Regions from separate parts of the Homo sapiens genome. Here all the other regions are linked to region 2. The links are contacts of gene promoters, found by promoter capture Hi-C in human tissues and cell types (Jung and others, 2019). All regions are on one chromosome and are shown on one strand. Each heading gives the region's core, a stretch centred on a gene start or on the middle of the fragment in contact. The rest is flanking DNA. Distances are from core to core; before and after follow the strand shown. Region 1 overlaps ZNF605 (zinc finger protein 605). Region 2 holds the start of ZNF84 (zinc finger protein 84). Region 3 overlaps ZNF891 (zinc finger protein 891).

Evidence for each region. The method cuts DNA at HindIII sites, captures the fragments that hold promoters and counts their contacts. A contact is called where the count stands out against the background at its distance.
Region 1: a contact is called between a fragment that was not itself captured here and the fragment with the promoter of ZNF84 in region 2, in 10 of the 25 tissues and cell types used here (H1 embryonic stem cells, IMR-90 fibroblasts, adrenal gland and 7 more).
Region 3: a fragment that was not itself captured here is called in contact with the fragment with the promoter of ZNF84 in region 2 in 6 of the 25 tissues and cell types used here (IMR-90 fibroblasts, dorsolateral prefrontal cortex, hippocampus and 3 more).

What each region holds. Positions count from the first base shown.
Region 1 is chr12:132,919,792-132,924,514 of GRCh38, forward strand. It overlaps ZNF605 (zinc finger protein 605), which reads right to left. Exons shown (of 5, transcript NM_183238.4): 5 at 1-4,723. Among named protein-coding and RNA genes, the nearest start is that of ZNF605, 34 kb to the right of the region's middle. The HindIII fragment of the contact is 5,257 bases long and covers 132-4,723 here.
Region 2 is chr12:133,035,365-133,040,084 of GRCh38, forward strand. It overlaps ZNF84 (zinc finger protein 84), which reads left to right and starts at 2,145. Exons shown (of 5, transcript NM_001289971.2): 1 at 2,145-2,181. It overlaps ZNF84-DT (ZNF84 divergent transcript), which reads right to left and starts at 1,858. Exons shown (of 3, transcript NR_110091.1): 1 at 1,405-1,858. RefSeq lists an enhancer at 1,762-1,851 and a silencer at 2,072-2,251. The HindIII fragment of the contact is 8,441 bases long and covers 1-4,720 here.
Region 3 is chr12:133,114,752-133,119,290 of GRCh38, forward strand. It overlaps ZNF891 (zinc finger protein 891), which reads right to left. Exons shown (of 2, transcript NM_001277291.2): 2 at 1-4,539. Among named protein-coding and RNA genes, the nearest start is that of ZNF891, 13 kb to the right of the region's middle. The HindIII fragment of the contact is 6,343 bases long and covers 1-4,428 here.

The DNA of each region.
Region 1 (4,723 bases), core at 1,510-4,009, 110 kb before region 2:
CTGTGCACATTTCGAGATTTAGGTATCACTAAATAAGTTTGGTGTTCCCTGTTTTTTTGTGTGTGTGTGTGATGGAGTCTTGCTCTGTCACCCAGGCTGGAGTGCAGTGGTGTGATCTCAGCTCACTGCAACATCGGCTTCCTGGGTTCAAGCGATTCTCCTGCCTCAGCCTCCGGAGTAGCTGGGACTACACACGTGCCACCAAGCCCGGCTAATTTTTGCATTTTTAGTAGAGATGGGGTTTCACCATATTGGCCAGGCTGGTCTCGAACTCCTGACCTTGTGATCTGCCTGCCTTAGCCTCCCAAAGTGTTATGATTACAGGTGTGAGCCACCGCGCCCAGCGCCTGATTTATTTATTTTTTTGAGACAGAGCCTCGCTCTATCACCCAGGCTGGAGTGCAGTGGTGTGATCTTGGCTCACTGCAAGCTCCACCTCCCAGGTTCACGCCATTCTCCTGCCTCAGCCTCCTGAGTAGCTGGGACTACAGGCGCTGGCCACCTCACCTGGCTAATTTTTTGTATTTTTAGTAGAGACGGGGTTTCACCGTGTTAGCCAGGATGGTCTCGATCTCCTGACCTCGTGATCCACCCGCCTTGGCCTCCCAAAGTGCTGGGATTACAGGCGTGAGCCACCGCGCCTGGCCTGGTTTATTTAATGTTAGCATTCTGACAAGATGTTAAATGACCCGGATACAATGAGTAATAATTGTGTTCTAAGTTGCAAAGATCCCATAAGGGAAATAAAGAATTATTAAATATCATCACCAACTTCACAGATTTGGTCTCAAAGTAAATCTGCTACATACTAAATAATTTAAATTAATATGGTGATGGAGTGTGTGGCGTTGGAAGAAAACTTGTTGAAGAAAGCTTACTTTATTTTTATTCATTTAAGAGGCAAGGTTTCACTCTGTCACTCAGGCTGGAATGCAGTGGCCCCATCATGGCTCACTGCAGCCTTGAACTCCTGGGCTCAAGTGACCCTTCTGCCTCAGCTTCCCAAGTAGCTGGGATTACAGACATGCACCATCATGGCTAACTTTTTTTTTGAGATGGAGTTTTGTTCTTGTTGCCCAGACTGGAGTGCAATGCCGTGATCTCGGCTCACTGCAACCTCCTCCTCCCAGGTACAAGTGATTCTCTTGTCTCAGCCTCCCAAGTAGCTCGGATTACAGGCATGTGCCACCATGCCCGGCTAATTTTTTTGTATTTAGTAGAGACGGGGTTTCACCATGTTATTCAGGCTGGTCGCGAACTCCTGAACTCAGGTGATCCACCCACCTCGGCCTCCCAAAGTGCTGGGATTACAGGCTTGCGTCACTGCACCCAGCCTCTCATGGCTAATTAAATTTTTTTTTTGTAGAGATGAGTCTTGCTATGTTGTCCAGCTGGTCTCAAACGCCTGGGCTCAAGCGGTCCTCCCAATTTGGCCTCCCCAAGCACTGGGATTACAGGTGTGAGACACCACCCCCAGTTGAAAAGTTACTTTGGATATAACTGATTTGAATTTTATTCTTGTGAAATAGTGATGAGATTTTATATTGTCTACTTCTAAGCGGCAGACAGTCATCATGAGGCAAATAAAATTTTCTAAGGTAAGGAGAGTGAGAATGGCCTTTCCCCTTTAGTCTATGGCAAAATAAAGGGGGGCATGGGAGAATCCTGATGGTGGAAATCATTTTATTCTCATACACAGGTTATTACAGCACAATTAGGAAGAGACAATCACAACTCACACAATGCTATATTCAAATTATGCCAAAGTCCCAACATATTCATTTCATTTGCAAGTTAATTCCTAAAAGATCAGAGCAGAGTGATACACAAGTTTATTAACACAGACTACAACGTCAATGAAGCCTCCTGGCATTGTCGGAAATAGAAAACATGTATAAAAATCTTCGAAATGCAGGTTAAAATGCAAATCCAAGTGAAAGGAAAAAGCACTACTGTGAAGCCTAACGGCAATTATTTCCCTTCAAAGGAGGTTTGTGTCCAGCTGGAGAGAAGGCCTGGTGGACAGAAGACAAAGGAAGGCAAAATTCCTAAGGGAGAAATTCAAAAAAATGATGGGGGTGCTGCCCTCTGCTGGGCCTCTTTGGCAGTCGACTTCAACTTAATGCATTAGCGCCGTAAGGTTGTAAGAGAAGCAACTCTGGCTTGATCTTAGAAAAGCTGATTTTCTTTTTGGCAGCATATTTCCGGTGAGAACTGATGGGAAAGGTGGTGTGGATTCGTGGACGAAGTCTCTAACGTAATCTTGACTACTGAAGGGTAAAGACTTGCCCACAGGTTAGAGATTACATGAATTATCCACAACGAATGGTAGCAGATGATGGGTCAGGGGTATTTTAATTGTACAGCATAACACTTTAGAGAGCTGGGAAGTATGGGACATCATTCCCGTCTTTCTTCACTCAGTAACTGATTATCTTGTTTCTTGTCCACAGATATTTAACCTAAATAACAATGCTTTTTGAAGGTTGTTTGGCTAACCCAGAGGTAGTAAAAGACTTCATAAGTCTTTCTATTACTGAAGAGGAGCTTAGTAATAACTGCAAGTCTATTTATATATGTAGCAGATGGTAACAATCTCCAGAGCCACTGACATATGCAGCAGAAAAGCACAAAGAACTTTGTATTTGTTATAATTTCTACTGCATTGTCCAGATACAGATAGAAAATACTGATATGTAGTGTGGGGAATCTTGAGACATTTCAGCCTATGCACTATGCGGCACTTGTACTGATAACTGATTATCACAATTTTATTAAATGCTCATCATTTAACAGATGGCACAGAAAATAAATGGCACACTCAGAATATTAACTCAAGAACAATTAATAAAGGCACTATTTACAAATATGTGTTCACAATTAAAGACACCCAACCAGTGGGTTGGGGAAGCACCCAGTAGTAGTTAAGTCTGAAGATCATGGAGAGGGAATGGTGTCAACTGAAACCGAGAGATCTACAGCCATAGATGGGGCTTCCCAAAGGAAGCTGTATCCTTACGGGAACACAGAAGCTACCATGGTCCAGGCAGGAGGAAGGGAACGGTAATAAATAACTTTTTCTCCTCCCACCTCTGGTATCTCCCACTGTTCAAACCTATGAAGAAACCCCAGTCTCTAGAAGACAGCCTCAGGGGGGAGCAGAGCAGAAAATGGGGGAAAAGGGATCAAAGAAATAGGGAATACTCAGCACACATGCAGATCCACAATACATACAATTTCTGTCATGTGCCTGCTACAAATTCAAGCTACCCCGAGCCCTGAAGGAATAGGCTTCTAACTCAGATGATGCAGTCTACTCAACTATATTTAAAAATTCACACTTAAGTGTTATCGTCATCACACTTTACTTCTAAATAAACTCCAAATACGTTATCATTACTTTGGCTTTAAGCAGCCAATTCCCTTTTAAAAAGATTTTAAAAAGAGAGAAATATCTTTTATATTTACCCACATATTCACCATTTTCAGAACTTCATTCCTTTGTACAGACCCAAACTTAAGTTTTGTATTATTTTCCTGCTGCCCTCAAACATCCTTTAATGTTTCCCAAAGACAGGTCTACAGGTAATAAAATTACCTTTGATTTAGTTTCTCAGAAACAGTCTTTATTTTGCCTTCATTTTTGAAAACGTTTTTGACAGTAACAGAATTCTAGGTTGCAGGGTTTGTTGTTTATTTCATTAAGGAATTTAGAGATAATACTCCATTGTCTTATAGCTTGCATAGTTCTCACCAGAAATATGCTGCCATTCTTTGTTCATGTGTATGTATTATCTTTTTTTCTCAAGGTGTTTTAAAAGTATTCTGTTTATCAGTGCTTTTCATGAATGTGACTCTGAGGTGCACTGCTGTGATGTAAATTATGTTTATTCTACTTCAGGTCATTTGAGCTTCTTGAATATGTGGGGGTATTGTTTTCACCAGATTTGGAAAATCTTTAGCCATTATTTATTCAAATACTTCTTCATGCCTCTTCATTTTCTCCTCTCCTTCTGGGACTCCAGTTAAACATATATTACACTACTGTAATGGTTTTCCTATTCTCTTCCTCTTCTCTAAGTCTTTTTTTCTCTCTGTATATCACTTTGGTAGTTTTTATTCTTACTCTTCAAGTTCATTGATTTTTTCTTCTTTTTCTGTATCTAATCTCTCCACTCGGGATTTTAACAAAATCAGAAGTTGATTTCATCCCTAGAAGTTCCATTTTGGCCAGTAAAAATATCTCTTATACCTCAGGTTTCATCAATCTTATGTTTTCCTCTACTTTATATTTACAATAGCTCTTTTAATATCCTTGTCTACTAATTCCATCACCTCTGTCTTTTCTGGGTTTCTACTGATTTTTCTCCTGGTTATAAGTCATATTTTATTGCTTCTTTGCATAACACATTAGTTTTTTTGGATGCCGGACACTGTAGGTCCAGAGTAGCTTTTAATCTAGAGTTAATTAGCTGCACTACTAAAACAAAACCTTTCTGAGAATTCTACCTGATGCTCCATGTGTTTCCACTCTGTTTCCACTCTGGCTGCTGAGAACATAAACTATTCCCAGCCCTGCATGAGTTCCAGGAATTGTTCAGCCTGCTGCTTTCCAGTGCTTCTTTTCCTGGCCTCAGTGCAAGTCAGTACTAAGTCAAAGGACTCAGGGGACTCCCAGCAGACTTCTTGAGCCCTGTATCTAGAAGGATCCCATCTCTCCAGT
Region 2 (4,720 bases), core at 895-3,394:
TGTCTCAAAAAAAAAAAAAAAGAAGAAGAAGAAGTTGTGAAACCATGCCCCCAAATAGTTAAAGAAACCAGTGACTAACGAATTTTTTTTTTTTGAGATGGAGTCTCGCTCTTGTCGCCCAGGCTGGAGTGCAGTGGCGCGATGTCGGCTCGCTGCAATCTCCACCTCCCAGGTTCAAGCGATTCTCCTGCCTCAGCCTCCCGAGGAGCTGGGATTACAGGTGTGCACCACCACGCCCAGCTAATTTTTGTATTTTTAGTAGAGACAGGGTTTCACCATGTTGGCCAGGCTGGTCTCGAACTCCTGACCTCAGGTGATCTGCCCGCCTCGGCCTCCCAAAGTGCTAGGATTATAGGCGTGAGCCACCGCGTCCGGCTAACAGAAATTCTTGAGCTTACAGGATGGCAGATAAGAAACAGTTTGCTGAAACTCCGTTTGTAATATAATACAACTGGCTGAAATCAGTTGAAACCAATATAACCAAACGGAGTCCATGCAGAATGAGCTTGCTGATGTCGCAGCCTGAATTTCCACTGCACTTTTCACACTAACTCTACCTTAATTTGCACATGGGACCCAAGAAGAGGCTTGAAGAGACAACTGCACATGGTCGGGGACTTTCCAGACTTCCTTTTTCCTTCACCATTCACCTGTGAATCCCAGAATCCACCCTCTAAACCTTTTTTCACAATAGTGCTGCCTTAAGGGCAGCACAGAGAGATAGATTTGAACTAAACTCCTGTCACTTTGTTGGTCAACTCGCAATTAAGCTTTTCTTTTCTCAAACGCCTGGTGCCATAGTATTGGCTTCTGTGCACATCGGGCAATGAGGTCTTTTGCGTAGCAGTATTTGGATATCCGGTTTCCTCACGCTATTTATTGAAGCGACTGTCCTTTCCCCATCGTGTATTCTTGACACAAGATTAGTTGACTTGCCTAAGATTAGTTGACTGTATATGCATGGGGTTATTTCTGGTTTTTCTACGCTGTTCCACATTGGTCCATGCGTCTGTTTTTATGCTAGTACTTCACTGGTGAGTTCTACCTCTGGGAATAAATATAAGAATTCTCTAATCACTGGATGTTTGAAGCAATTCACTAAGCAACTCATTATGATGCTTTCTGGCAAAGGATCTCTGAATTTGTCTTCAAATTGTGGATAAAATTGGGTCAAATTTGGCCCATGTTGTCCTGGAGAATCATTTGTGTCACAAATTATCAAATTTATTAGTATAGAGCGGATTTTCATTCAATTTCCTATGTGTCTATGGTTATTTCTCTTTTTTCATCTCTCTCCTCCATCTCCCCGGCCCCATCTTGCTGTCATAAGCATCGTGACTTACCTATAATTCTCCCTACGACTCCAGTTATGGATCAACTTTACTTTTTTCTGTTAATTCTTACCTTCTTTCCATAAATATATTTAAATTTTTTCTGGTTTCCTCAACTGAAGTCAAACCAATTGAGTATTGGTGGGCCGGGCGCGGTGGCTCACGCCTGTAATCCTAGCACTTTGGGAGGCCAAGGCGGGCGGATTGCCTGAGCTCAGGAGTTCGCGACCAGCCTGGGCAACACGGTGACTCCCCGTCTCTACTAAAATACAAAAAAATTAGCCGGGCGTGGCGGCGGGCGCCTGTAGTCCCAGCTACTCGGGAGGCTGAGGCAGAAGAATGGCGTCAACCCGGGAGGCGGAGTTTGCAGTGAGCCGAGATCACGCCACTGCACTCCAGCCTGGGTGACAGAGCGAGACGCCGTCTCAAGAAAATATATATATATATTGGTGGATTCGGTTTCCCTTTATGTTTCTCAGAAAACCGTGTGAGCCCGTTTGGAGTCACTCCGTCTCCAAGCGACAGGCACTTCCGGACGCGGGGCACTGTGGGAAGTTGAGTTCGCGGGGCTCCTTCCTTCGCGCATGCGCACATGCACTCTTGGTAATGCTTGCAGGTGGCCCGTTCTTCCTCTTTGTCCTTCGCTGCCACGTGAGAGGGGAGTGTACGCGTGTGCGCGCGTGCGAGTGTGCGCGTGTGCAGTCCCCGACTCGTCCCGGCCCGTTCGGAGCCGCCCGGGAGCGCACAAAGGCCGACGGTTTGGGCGCGTGCGCGGGACACGGGGGACGGGCGGTGTCACGTGATCGCGAGGCCGCGGGCGCGCGGGCGCGACTCGGCGGCGGCGTCTTTTGTGAGTTCAGTGAGTTTATTGCGGGCCCGGCGCTGGGGGCTCCGGGAATGGCGGGGGAGGCGCGCGGGAGTGGCCGCGGGGAGCTTCGGCTTCAAGGCCCTGGGCGTCCGCGCGCGGATGCGGGTCTGGGGCGGGTTGGGGCTGGGCCGGGTCGTGAAGATGCCGTGGGCCGCGGAGCTGCGCGGATTCTGGGCTGTGGGGCGGGCACGGCCTTTCCGGAGGCGCCGCTCCTGGGCGTCCTTTCAGGCGGGCGTGGAGGCGCCAGCCTCGGGCGCGTTTAGCCTCGGGCGCGTTTAGCCTCGACCTCGGGCCAGCCCGCTTGCCGCGCCGTGGCCCTAAGGAGCGGCTGCCCTGCTGGACCGCATCCACCAGCAGCCTGGCTCTGCCGCTATCGAAGGAGGCTTTTAAAGCGCTGGGGTTACAGGTGTGAGCCACCATTCCTGGCCGTGTATTTTTTAATGGTTATATTTATTGACTGTTTTAAATTTTTTAAGTGACTTTTGCTTTTGGTATGGTGTAGCGAAATCTCCCCTCAAATTATACATATATTCATTCACCTGTGGTTTTTTTTTGTAGACATTCTTAGGGTTTCCATTATTTTAAAATTTAACCCACTGAAAGTAGTTGTATGAAATAGCTACGTTTATTTTCTTTCAAATATTCTTGTATTCATTAAATAATTTAATTTTACTGATGGCTTTGAAATGCTACATTTATTGCATGCTGACTCTTGCATATTTAGACAGTTTGCTTTTTTTCATCTGTATAACTTCTCTGGAGCCAGTGTCAAATGTTATAATGATTATAATTTGTATGTATTACAGTGGGCCTGTTCACACTCATTATTTTGTATTTCCAAAAGCATCCAGGCCCGGTGTGGTAGGGCATGCCTGTAGCCCCAGCTACTCTGTAGGTTGAGGTAGGAGGATCACTTGAGCCCAGGAGTTCAGGGCTGCAGTGAGCTATGGTTATGCCATTGCACTTCAGCCTGGACAACACAGTAAGACCCTGTCAAAAAAAAAAAAAAAGTGTCCGAATTGTTCTTGAACCTTTTTTCTTACACATAAACTTTAGAATTTTGAGATTCTGATTGGAGTCGATGAGTTATATAAATCATTTGAGGTCAAATTATCTTCACAATCTGAAGTCTTCCTATCCCAGAATAAAATCGAATTATAAATTTCTTTAATTCTATTTTTATAGTTCTCATTGGTGTTTTTAGTATGCTTCATATGGGTCTTGATATTCCTACATATTTTATGTATTTTGTCAATTATGAGTCGGATTTTATTTTTTTGTTATTTTATGTGAGTTGTTTATATCTTACAGAAATAAGGTTATTGACCTGGAAAGATGTTCTTCACATAATGGGAAAAAAACAAAAACAGCTTTTAAATATGACCATATGCTTCCATTGTATGAAAAATATCACAATAGTTTCCATCATCCTAAGAATGGTTACCTGTGGTGAGATCATAGATAATAGTTCTTATTTAGCTTGTGTATGTTTTTTATATTTTGCCATCATATATTACTTTTATAATAATAATTATAGCTAGTATATGTTTCGTATGACTGTGTGCCAGCTTTTGTTCTAAGATTTATGTATTATCACAATTTAAGGTATAAAGGAGTCATTTCTTGTATAACTGGGAGAAACTGCTGTGTGTTTCTGAGTTGGCACTGAAGTTTGAACCACAAAAAGGCATGAAAAAGAAAGTGCTGCTTGTTAGTGTGATACAGTTGAGGCAGGGCGTCCTTCATTTATATTTTTGTGGGAATTAGTGACTGAATGTGTGCATGGGAATAGGAGCTGACTCCAGGATTTATGTTGTGTGTGTTTGTGCATGTAGATATGCACAAATGACAATATGACTTTAGTATTCATGCTTTGAACATAGCAGGATAGAGAATTAACATTTGAATTTTGCTACTTACTAAATGTGCAATCACAGGCACATTTTACAATCACTCATTGTCCCAGTTTTCTCTCTGTAAAATGGAGATTATGTTAAACGCCTTATAGGGTTGTGCATGAGTTAAATTTAAAATGCTTAGTATATTGTCTCACATACAGAAAGCACTGGAATGTTAGCTGTAACTGTTATTACAAGGCCCCAGTCGCTTTCCTTTTAACACCTCATTTGTTTCTTAGACTCCCATTGTGAGGTCCACTTTATCTTCACCATTTTAGCAAGTACAGAAATTGAGGCTTTGAAGGCAAGAAAGGAGGGGGGAAAAACAGTAACCACAATAAACATTAAATGTATTCAATTTGTCAGTTAAAAGACACACTGTTGGTTTGGATTTTTTTTTTTTTTTTGAGATGGAGTTTCCCTTTTGTTGCACCAGGCTGGAGTACAATGGCACGGGCTGCAACATCCACCTCCCAGGTTCAAGCAACTCTTCTGCCTCAGCCTCCCAAGTAGCTGAGCTTACAGGTGCATGCCACCACGCCTGGTTTATTTTTGTATTTTTAGTAGAGATGGGGTTTCATCATGTTGGTCAGGCTGGTTGAACTCCTGACCTCAGGTGATCC
Region 3 (4,539 bases), core at 7-2,506, 78 kb after region 2:
AGGGAGACAGTGAAGATAAAGGGAATAACCAGAGATAAGGCCTGAAAAGGCAAGAGTTTGAGCAAGGTCTTGTAAAAAGATTTTATCTTAACTGGAGAAAAAGGCCAGAAGAAGATTAAACGTGAAATGTTATGTGATCAGGTTAGTACTTTAGATGGATCACCCTGGGAAGTGTAGAGAACAGTTGATAGGAAAGCACAATATATAAACAATATTATTGATTGCAGTATTGTTATAAAAACTCTGGAGGCAAATGGATCAAATACATTATGGTACAAGCATATAATCAAATACTAAGCAGCTATTACAAATGAAATAGAACTACATGCACTGACATGGAAAGATGTTTAAAAAGATGTTGGATAGGCTGGGGGCGATGGCCTCACAATCCCAACAATTTGGGAGGCTGAGGCAGGCGGATCACCTGAGGTTAGGAGTTTGAGACCAGCCTGACCAACATGGAGAAACCCTGTCTCTACTAAAAATACAAAATTAGCCAGGAGTGGTGGCACATGCCTGTAATCCCAGCTACTTGGGAGGCTGAGGCAGGAGAATTGCTTGAACCCAGGAGGCAGAGGTTGCTGTGAGCCGAGAACGTGCCACTGCACTCCAGCCTGGGAAAAAGCAAAACTCCTTCTCAAAAAAAAAAAAAAAAAAAAAAAAAAGATGTGGGATAAAAGGTATAACTCAATTTTTATAAAATGTTTGTATGTACATAAAGTCTGACAGAATGCACATTCACCTACGATATTAATTTTTTAAGGCAGTAGAATCCAGGGTTTCCTTCTGTGTAGGGCAGAAGTTATTTACATTGTTTTCTCCTATGCATGTATTAGTTTTATTATTAAAAACCACAAAGTTTTTGTTTTGTTTTGTTTTGTTTTTTAATAGGATACCATGGCAGCTGCATAGAAAACATACTAAAGGAAAGTATGATTCAAGTCAGAGAAACCAGTTAGGAGGCTATTGCAATAAAATCCAGGTGAGATGCTGGGCGAGACTGTGCCTGAGTCTACCTCCTGGTGTACAGGATGAGTATTCCTTATTCAAAACACTTGGGACCAGAACTGTTTTGGATTTTGGAATATTTGCATTATACCTACTAGTTGAGCATCACAAATCTGAAAATCCAAAATTTTAAATGCTCCAATGAGCATTTCTTTTGAAAGTCACATCGGCGCACAAGGTTTCAGGTTTTGGAGCATTCTGAATTTCAGATTTTCAGATTTGAGATGCTCAATCTGTTCCAAGATCACTGGGCCAAAATTAGAGTGTAAATTCCAGTCCTAACCAAGCAAAGTACAATCCCTTGCTGAGTACTCCTTAAGATGATCTCACCCAAGGACCACATGCAGTTGGGACGATTTTCTTGAGACGGAGTCTTGCTCTGTCACCTAGGCCGGAATGCAGTGGTGCGATCTCGGCTTACCACAACCTCTGCCTCCCGGGTTCACAGCATTCTCCTGCCTCAGCCTCCCGAGTAGCTGGTACTACAGGCGCCCACCACCACACTTGGCTAATTTTTTGTATTTTTAGTAGAGACGAGGTTTCATCATGTTAGCCAGGATGGTCTCAATCTCCTGACCTCGTGATCCGCCTGCCTCGGCCTCCCAAAGTGCTGGGATTAGAAGCGTGAGCCACTGCACCCGGCCAGTTGGGACCATTTTCTAACTACTGATGGCTAGTGCTATACCCACCAGGGCTGCTAACACCTGAAACCACTTGGTTTCACAGCATGACTGCAGGCTCTCCTTTCCAAGCTACAAATGAATCCCAGTAGACCTAAATACCCATCATCTTCTTACAGACTGCTGGGATTTAACCTATACTCCCTCTAAATTTTGTTTTCACTGGTCATAGCCCCTGATCTGGTCTTTTTTCCTCTATCAATAATGTCATTACAATCTTCTGTATTCCTCAGGCCAAAGCCAGAAACCCTAAACCCCTGCCCTTCTGGAGACTCTTTCATGGTGCCCTCTGAGATTCCCTTAATAAACTCCCTTAATATCCTCAACTATTTCCCTGAACATTTCCTTTCATTAATTTAAACTTGGCTGTTCCCTGGGAAGGAAAAAACACCTACCTGACAACAATCACATCACAAGGGGGCTTATTCTCATGTATTCCACATATCCACAGGTTGGAAGTGGGATCAGTATCTTCCTTACTCCCTAACACTGCTTCTAACCATTGCAGCCTGGAGAAAACCACTCCTTCCTTTGAAGTTCATACCATCTAGTTATACCACTTTCTCCCTCTCTTCCTTGCTATCTTTTATTTAAATGACCTCTCCTCAATCACATAGACTTTGCTACTTGCTTTGCTGTCTTCTCCACTGATGGCTCTATTGATAACTTGGAAGGACTTTCAAATACATAGAGATCTTCTTCACTAAAACCTCCTTGCAGAATTTCATCCACCTTCCTCTTAGCAGATAATCTTACCATGAAACCTATAATCATATATCTATATTTTACTGGCCAGGAACAGTAGAAATGGCATCAAGGCTACAAAGAGGTTGGGATAAGTAGTTTTGTAGCTAAATACAATACTACTGTTAGCAAAACTGAAGATCTATTCATAAAGAATAAAAAATATATATATTTGGTTAGTAATTAGCAGTGGCTGCCACACAGTTCTTAGGAAACACAAAACATTATATAGTTCACATATTCTGATCACTGCTTAGTACAGTTAGGTGTAAATAAATAAACAAGTAATTTAAACCAACCCACCCATTTTTCTACTCCTGAAAGAATGGTGGGAGTATCCCTCCGCCTCATGGCAAACACCAATACTTTTGTTTGTGCTCTAAACATCTACACCCCATTCTCAGAAGCTTATATTAAACTTTATTATGCTGCATATTAAACCTCACCATACTACATTCATCACATTAGAATTCAAACATGTTCTAGTTTTTCATATTTTAAACATATTATCTCTTTACTCCAAATCTCTCCAGCTACTACCCTTTCTCCTATTATTCAAACTTGTCTACATCCAGTCTTTACTTCTTTGCCCTTTATTGATTCCTAAAGTCAGCCCAATCTAGCAACCATCTTCATTATGTACCACTATGTTATTTCCAACTACAATCACAAATGATCTTCACTTGGCTGTATATGTTTACCTTTTTAGACTTCATCTAATTGGATCCCTAAGTAACACTAAAAACATTTACCTTCACCTTCCTTTTTTTTTTTTTTTTTTTGAGATGAAGTCCTGCTCTGTCACCAGGCTGGAGTGCAGTGGTGAGATCTCATCTCACTGCAACCTCTGCCTCCCAGGTTCAAGTGATTCTTCTGCCTCAGCTCCTGAGTAGCTGGGACTACAGGCATGTGCCACCACACCCGGCTAATTTTTGTATTTTAGTAGAACCAGGGTTTCACCATGTTGGCCAGGATGGTCTCGATCTGACCTTGTGATCCGCCTGCCTCAGCCTCTCAAAGTGCCAGGATTACAGGCGTGAACCACCACACCTGGCCAACTTCACCTTCCTTTTTGAAACTTGTTTGTCTTGGTTCAGTGAAACTCCACTCTTCTTGTTTTCCTCTTATCTCTCTACTATAGTTCCTTTAAATGTATGTCTTCAGGGTAGGTGGCAGACCTTCCCTTTTCATTCTTACTCACCTTCCAAAGCCTGTTATTGTCTCTTTACTGATGTCACTACAATTTATATCTCTATCTAGACACCTCCTCAATTCTAGAATTGCGTACCAACCTCTTCATCTGGATGTCTCACCATCCTCTGAGGCTAACATGAATAACTACAACAGCAGCTACTGCCTTCTTTCTTCCACCGTATGCCACTCCTTCCATATTTTGTTAGAACTAATCTGGTCAGTATCTGCAAGATCAAGCAGCAAAATCTCATGCTTTACTTAGCATTTAAAATTGGTAACTTCCCCTCTGTCTGAAAACTTTCTGTAGTTCCAATGCTGAAATGTTGGGATACTCTTTTTGCTGTTCTAAACACTTGCTTTCAGTGATCTTGGTTCTATCTTCATCTGCTGCTTAAGCATAAAAGCTCGGTCAACATTCCTTTTCCATACTTTTTTTCTATGTTCCTCTTCAAATGTGTACATCCAACATAAAACATTTAACTGTATATACTTCTGTTTTTCTACAATATGGTGACTGCGTTGACTGTATTTATGTAGTGCTTTAAAAAAAATCAGTAAGAGCCAGGCATGGTAACTCATGCCTGGAATCCTAGCACTTTGGGAGGCAAAGGCAGGAGGACTGCTTGAGCCCAGGAGTTTCAGACCAGTCTGAGCAATGTAGGAAGAGCCTGTCTCTACAAAATATATATTTTTAAAATTAGCCAGGCATGGTGGCATGCATTTGTGATCCCAACTACTGAGGAGACTGTGGTGGATCACCTGAGCCCAGGAGGTCGAGGTTGCAATGAGCCATGACCACACCACTGCATTCTAGCCTGAGAGACAGAGACTCTGTCTGAAAAATTGAAAAAAAAAAAGAAAAAATCAATTAACATATTTTTCTTGGCCGGGCACAGTGGCTCACGCCTGTAAT